2 separate regions of the Homo sapiens genome follow, and region 2 is linked to region 1. Evidence: promoter capture Hi-C in 16 types of primary human blood cells and fetal thymus (Javierre and others, 2016). All regions are on one chromosome and are shown on one strand. Each heading gives the region's core, a stretch centred on a gene start or on the middle of the fragment in contact. The rest is flanking DNA. Distances are from core to core; before and after follow the strand shown. Region 1 holds the start of SAP130 (Sin3A associated protein 130). Region 2 has its middle 11 kb from the start of SFT2D3.

Region 1 (3,665 bases), core at 172-2,671:
AGGAAGTCGAGGCTGCAATGAGCTGTGATCACGCCACTGGACTTCAGCTTGGGCTGAACTGAGAACCTGTCTCAAAAAAACAAAAAACAAAAAGGATGACATTTGAAACTGTGGAAATACATTAAACCATTTAGGAAGGCAGTATAGCATTAGCGTGTTGGAGCCCTGAAGAATGCTGTATTTATGAGAAAGAGGAGGTATAATGGAGCTTGACATAGGAGTAGAAGCAGGAGACAGCCTGGTTCTAGAGGCCAAGGGAAGACATGAGGAGGAATTACTACTGGTCAGTAAGCTAAACAAGATGAGATCTAAGTGAGGACCGATGGGTTTGAAGTTGAGTAGGTGTTGGCAACTTTTGGGGAGCAGTCTGAGAAGAGTGGCAACTCCAAAAGGGATAAGGACTGCCTAGGCAGAGAGGAGGCTGAAGTCTATCACAGGAGTCACTCTTTAGAAGTTTGAGAATGAAGGCATGAAGGTGGAAAAGGAAAGTGGCTTGAAGAGGAGGAGTATCTGAGACTCATCCCTGGGCTATAGCCAGGAGCTACTCTCTTCTAACCAAGCAGTTGTCTTACACAGCTGTGCATGATAGGAAGAGGGGGGTTTGAGCCCCATTTATTTCCTAACTAATCACAAAACTCCAGGCCTAAATTACCATCTGGTAAGGGAAGAGGGAGACTTAATCTCTTATCAGACACAAATGTGGCCTCAAAAGATATGGCTAAGTCTTCTACAGGTGCATAAACTCCAACCCTGAACCCCAAGCAAAATGACAAAATAAAACTGCCCCCTTCAGCTCCTTTATAATCCGGAAAGCGCGCGCAGGTGCGCCCCGGCCGCCCAGAGCCCTGCGCCCTGCCGGCCTGCTTTCACAGAGCCGCGCCCGCGCTGCGCCTGGCGGCTCCCGCCGCGCGTAGGCTGTGCCGACCGCGGTTCCCGGTGGGGACACCGAGTCCCACTCGCGGCATAGGGAGGCGGGCACCGTCACGACACTGGCCCGGCCCGCGGATCCCTTGGCCGCCGCAGTTGGCCTCCATTACCCTTTCCCGCGCCGCGCCTCCCCGCGGGGAAAATGAAACCCAGTGCCCTCAGGTTAAGGCATAGGGTGGGATCCACTGTCTTCTCACTTAGCCAAGAGAAAAGGCAGAACCGACTTCAGACAGCAAAGGGGTGTGTTGCCCTGGCCGGGTCGCCTGCGGCCCCGCCCCGGCGCTCTCCACCTCCTTCGCGGCCCGCCCTCCTGACTCCGGCGACTACATTTCCCACAGGACGCCGCGGCTCAGAGGGGCGGGCCCGTCCGCTCTCCCGCTCACGACCACCGGCGACTGGCTGACTCGGCAGGGGGCGGGGCCTGCGCCAGCCAATAGACGGGAGGCTCGTTACGGCGGCGGAAGCAGCGGCGCTGGAGTGAGGGGTGGGGGGCAGAGTGCTAGCTCCCCGGCGGTGGCTGCGGGTCCGGAGCCTGGGGACGTCGGCCCCACAGACGGAGAGCGCGCGGGAGCGAGCTCAAGGCGGCGCGGCGGCCACTGGGCGCAGCACCCAGGTAATGGCGGGACGGGCGCCCGGGAGGGAAGGGGAGGAGACGAGGGGGCGGGGCGGCTGAGCCGGGCTGCAGCGTCCGTCCCGTTGCGCGTCCCCGGGGAAGGGCAGAGGATCCTCGTCTCCTGCGGCTCGGACCGCGGCTCTTTCGCGAGCTGGTCACGGCGGTTGGGCCGGCGACAGGGGCTGGGTGTCCTGTGGCGAGGAAGGGAGAGGCACCGGGAGGGGTGGGCTGACCCGGGCGTGGGGGCGTGGCGGACGTGGGCCTTGGCGGGGAAGCAGAGCGGCCGGGGGAGCGCGGGCGGGCGGGCGGGCGGGCGGCCGGCCCAGGGAGTTTGGCTCCTGGAGCAGTTTAAAGTGACTCTCCACATCCGGGCCCTGCGCCCGCCGCTTTCAGACCCTGGCTGAGGCGGGGCCTCCCCGCTCCCCGCCCCCTTCGCCGGGGGCGCCTGTCTTCCTCTGCCATTGGCTCAGCCTCGAGGGGTTTGGGCTGCCCCGGCCAGGCTCGCGCCTGATTGGCTGGCAGTCGGCGGGAGGGTGGGGCGGGCTCTGAACGTGCAGGTCGCTGTGGATTGGTCCTGGGCCTCCACTGACGCGTCGGGCGTGGGGCCAATGGGCGGGCGGGGGAGGCAGGGGCAGGTTCGGGGGAAGAGGACTGCGAGCACAGCGGCGGCCGGGTGGCGGGGGTGAGTGGGGCCAGCGGGGCTGGACAGCAGCGGGCCCCGGGCGCCGCCGCCGCGATCCCTCCCCGCGCCCGCCGAGCACATCGCCGCCGCCGAGATGGGCCCTCCGCGGCACCCCCAGGCCGGCGAGATAGAAGCGGGCGGTGCGGGCGGCGGGCGGCGGCTACAGGTAAAGAGGCACAGTGCTCGTCTTGTGGTCGGGTCCCCAGATCGCCCGTCCGCACCCCCACCCCGGAGACGGGGGTCTCACACTCCGAGGTGTCTGGAAACCGGCGTCCTCCGGTCTCAGCGGGGGCTTCGCGGTGGGGTGGGGTTGCGGGCGAATCGGGAGATCGCTTGGCTCCTGAGGGAAAAGTGGGGGGCGATTTTAGGGAAGATGGAGAAGGTGTAGGGTCCTCTGGCTCTGTGAGGGGATCTGTGGAAGAGAAGGAAAAGGAAATCCGTAAATGGAGGCCTTTGCCGAAAAGCATTGGAGAATTCCTTTTGCATCGGGTCTGGATGTAAGATATCGGATCTTTTCTTAGGGCTGGATATCTTCCTCCGAATGTTCCTATGACATACTAATCACAGTTCTGTTCACCTTGGTGTGAGATTTGAGTGTTTCAAAGAGACATGCCATTTTCCATAAAACTTTACACAGAGAAATACACATGCATTGTGGTAATACCTGTCATGTGACTCTTGTACAGGATTCAATGGTGATTTTTTTAGCATAGCAATCCACAAGTATTTATGGAGGGTCATAGTACCCGCCAGCTCCGTATAAACAATATTTGTAGAAAACTTAGGTAGTTTAGATAATGTCTGCATTTATATTGATCCCAAGTTATTGTTTTTAAATAAATGATGCAGCATTTGCTTTTCCAAGGGACTATCTCATAGGTACTAAAGATGCTTTAATTTCTCAGTATTGATTCAGATCTCAGAATCTAGTAATAACCATATAACTGTATGTACTACAGGTGGAAATGAGTTCTCAACAGTTTCCTCGGTTAGGAGCCCCTTCTACCGGGCTGAGCCAGGCCCCTTCTCAGATTGCAAACAGTGGTTCTGCTGGATTGATAAACCCAGCTGCTACAGGTGAGATATGTAATATTCTAATATATTTTTTCCTACTTTAAGAATATTACCAGTTTTCTAACTTAAAAATTAGCAGATTCTTCTAGGATTTTAGTAAATTCTTGTTTCTTGAATTTGAAGAAAGGGTATATTACTATTCTAATTTAAACAAGGCTTTTTTTCCTTCCTGTTTTAACCACTTCATTCACATAGAGTACACATGCAACTTATAGCAAAGCGTGCCTGTAAGAACTGTTTTTGAAATGCATTAATATATTCTTGTTTAATTAATGTCCAGGAGTATAGCATTAGTGCTGTGAGGGAGCCCAGAGGTGTTTAAGGAACAGATCTTGTCTTTTAGGGGTTTATTATCTAGGAAAAGAAGTG
Region 2 (3,785 bases), core at 1,003-3,502, 340 kb after region 1:
TCAGAGCAATATGGGACACCACTAAGTGCACCAGCATATTGATATGGTTTAGCTTTGTGTCCCCACCCAACTCTTATATCAAATTGTAATCCACGATGTTGGAAGTGGGGCCTGGTGGGAAGTGATTGGATCATGGGGGTGGTTTCCAATGATTTAGCATCCCCCTTGGTTGTGATAGTGAGTGTGTTTTTGTGAGATCTTGTCATTTAAAAGTGTGTAGCACCTCCCCCCTCCCTGTTTCTTCCTCCTGCACTGGCCATGTAAGACATGCCTGTTCCCCATTTGCACTCTGCCATGATTGTAAGTTTTCTGAGGCCTCCCCAGAAGCTGAGCAGATGCTGCCATGCTTCCTGTACAGCCTGCAGGACCATGAGCCAATTAAACCTCTCTTCTTTATAAATTACCCAGTCTCTGGAATTTCTTTATAGCTATGCAAGAATGGACTAATATAGAAAATTGGTACTGAGGAGTGGGACATTGCTATAAAAATACCTGAAAATGTGGAAGTGACTTTGGAACTGGGTAATGAGCAGAGGTTGGAAGAGTTTGGAGGGCTCAGAAGAAGACAGGAAGATGAGGGGAAATTTGGAACTCCCTACGGACTGGTTAAATGGTTGTGACCAAAATGCTGATAGTAATATGGATAGTGAAGGCCAGGGTGAGGAGGTCTCAGATGGAAATAAGGAACTTAATGGGAACTGGAGCAAAGATAACCTTTGTTACATATTCGCAACAGAACCTGGTGGTGTTGTGCCCCTGCCCTAGGGATCTGTGGCACTCTGAACTTGAGAGTGATGATTTAGGGTATCTGGTGGAAGAAATTTTTAAGCTGCAAAGTGTTTACGGATTGGCCTGGCTGCTTCTAACAACCTACGCTCATATGTGTGAGCAAAGAAATGACCTGAACCTGGAACTTATATTTAAAAGGGAAGCAGAGTGTAAAAGTTTGGAAAATTTGTAGCCTGGCCATGTGGTAGAAAAGAAAAGCTAATTTTCGGGGGAGGAATTCAAGCAGGCTGCAGAAATTTGCATAAGTAAAGAGGAGCCCAAGTGCTAATAGCCAAGACAATGGGGAAAAGGTCTAGAAGGCATTTCAGAGACCTTCGTGGCAGCCCCTCCCAGCACAGGCCTGGATGCTTCAGAGGACTGAATGGTTTTCTAGGTCAGGCCCAGGGCCCTGCTGCCCTGCACAGCCTTGAGACTCTACTCCCTGCATCCCAGCTGCTCCAGCTCCAGCTGGCTGAAAGGGGCCCTGGCCACTGTTTCAGAGGGTGCAAGCCATTAAACTTGGCAACTTTCATGTGGTGTTAAGCCTGCAGGTGCACAGAATGCAAGAGTTTAGGCTTGGGAGCCTCTGCCTAAATTTCAGAGGATGTATGGAAATGCCTGGATGTTCAGGCAGAAACCTGCTGCAGGGGCAAAGCCCTCATACAGAACCTCTACTAAGGCAGTGTGGAAATGTGGGGTTGGAGCCCCCACACAGACTCCCCACTGGGGGACTACCTAGTGGAGCTGTGAGATGAGGACCTCTGTCTTCCAGACCTCAGAATGGTAGATCCACTGGCTGCTTGCATCCTGCACCTGGAAAAGCCACAGGCACTCAAGACCATCCCTTGAGAGCAGCCATGTGGGCTGAACCCTGCAAAGCCACAGGGGGAGAGCTTCCCAAGGCCTTGGGAGCCCAGCTCTCACACTAGTGTCCCCTGGATGTGGGGCATGGTGTCAAATGAGATTATTTTGGACCTTTAAGATTGAACGACTACCCTGCTGGGTTTTGAACTTGCATGGGGCCTGAAGCCCCTTTCTTTTGGCTGATTTCTCCCTTTTGGAATGGGAGTATTTAACCAATGACTGTACCCCCATTGGAAGTAACTAACTTGTTTTTGATTTTACAGGCTCATAGGTGGAAGGAACTTGCCTTGTCTCAGATGAGATTTTGGACTTTTGAGTTAATGCTGGAATAAGTTAACACTTTGTGAGACTGCATGATTATATTTTGAAATATCAGAAGGACATGAGATTTGGGAGGGGCCGGCGGCAAAATGATATGGTTTGTGTCCCCACCCAAATCTCGTGTTAAATTATAATTCCCAGTGTTAGAGGTGGGGCCTGGTGGGAGGTGACTGGATCATGGGGGCAGTTTCCAGTGGTTTAGCACCATCCTCCTTAGTCATAATAGTGAGTTCTCATAAAATCTGGTCATTTACAAGTCTGGGCCAGGCACAGTGACTCACACCTGTAATCCCAGCACTTTGGGGGGCTAAGGGGGGGCAGATCACCTGAGGCCAGGAGTTCAAGACCAGCCTGGCCAACATGGTGAAACCCTGTCTTTACTAAAAACACAAAAATTAGTTGAGTATGGTGGTGGGTGCCTGTAATCCCAGCTACTTGGAAGGCTGAGGCAGGAGAATTACTTGAACCTGGGAGGCAGAGGTTGCAGTGAGCAGAGATTGCACCACTGCACTCCAGCCTAGGCCAGAGTGAGACTCCAGCTCAAAAAAAAAAAAAAAAGTAGCACCTCCCTGCTCCTTCTCTTTTCCTTCTGCTCTGGCCATGTAAGATGTGCCTGTTTCTCCTTCACCTTCTGCCATGAGTATAAGTTTCCTAAGGCCTCCCCAGAAGCCAAGCAGATGCTGCCACACTTCCTGTACAGCCTGCAGAACTGTGAGCCAATTAAATCTCCTTTCTTTATAAATTACCCAGTCTCAGGTATTTCTTTATAGCAATGTAAAAATGGACTAATACACATAAGAATAATGGAGAGAAGTGAGAGAAAGGGACATAAAAATTATTAGAAGGCACAATGGCTGAAAATTTCCCCAAATTATTTGCTTATTTATTTAAAATTTATTAATATTATCATGTTTATAGAAAGAGTCTTGCTCTGTCACCCAGCCTGGAAGGCAGTGGCACAAGCATAGCTCACTCTAACTTTGACTCCCTGGGCTCAAGCATTCTTCCTGCCTCAACCTCCCAAGTAGCTAGGACTACAGGCATGCACCCCAATGCTCAGCTAATTTTCAAGTTTTTTGTAAAGACAGGGTCTTGCTGTATTTCCTAGGCTGGTCTTGAACTCCTAGCCTCAAATGATCATCCCACTTCAGCCTCCTAAAGTCCTGAGCTTACTCATCACCTAAAGGCAAGAGCCACTGTGCCTGACCAATTTCCCCAACTTTGATGAAAAACATTATTCTAAACATCTGAGAAACAATGAATTTCAAGTAGGATGAACACAAAGGCATTCACACTCAGACATATTATAGTCAAATTTTGAAAGCCAAAGATAAAGATAAAATCTTAAATGCAGCAAAAGGAATACAATTCATTGTGTACCAGTAGTACAATAATATTGACAAATGATGTCTCATCAGAAGCAATGGGGGCTAGAAAGCCGTGGTATGACATGTTCAAAGTGCTTAACAGTAAAAACAAAACAACAACAAAAAACCTGTTAACCAATAATTCCATACCCAACAAAACTATCTTTCAACAATAATGGCAAAATAAAAAGCACTCCAAAATAAATAAAATCTGACTGAATTTATTGCTACCAGTCCTGAGTAACAAGAAATATTTAAGGTTTTTCAGATAGAAAGCAAGTGACACCAGAAACTAATTTGAATCCACATGAAAAACAAAAGTGTTGGTAAAAGTAGATAATTACAATATAAAGTATAATTGCATATTTCTTCTTCTCCTCTTAACTGATCTAAAAAGTAATTGCATAAGAAAATATGCATGTAACTTTTTATGGGCTATGCACATATAGGAATGTAATATGTGTC

The links. Contacts are between HindIII fragments. The CHiCAGO score rates a contact against its expected background, and 5 or more counts as called.
Region 2: a fragment that was not itself captured here is called in contact with the fragment with the promoter of SAP130 in region 1 in 1 of 17 cell types (neutrophils); the score reaches 5.2 in neutrophils.

What each region holds. Positions count from the first base shown.
Region 1 is chr2:128,025,815-128,029,479 of GRCh38, reverse strand. It overlaps SAP130 (Sin3A associated protein 130), which reads left to right and starts at 1,421. Exons shown (of 21, transcript NM_001330301.2): 1 at 1,421-1,540; 2 at 3,182-3,299. The coding sequence starts at 3,188. RefSeq lists silencers at 734-883, 1,134-1,653, 1,754-2,093, 2,154-2,443. The HindIII fragment of the contact is 20,582 bases long and covers 1-3,665 here.
Region 2 is chr2:127,688,266-127,692,050 of GRCh38, reverse strand. No RefSeq gene overlaps it. Among named protein-coding and RNA genes, the nearest start is that of SFT2D3, 11 kb to the left of the region's middle. The HindIII fragment of the contact is 6,533 bases long and covers 1-3,785 here.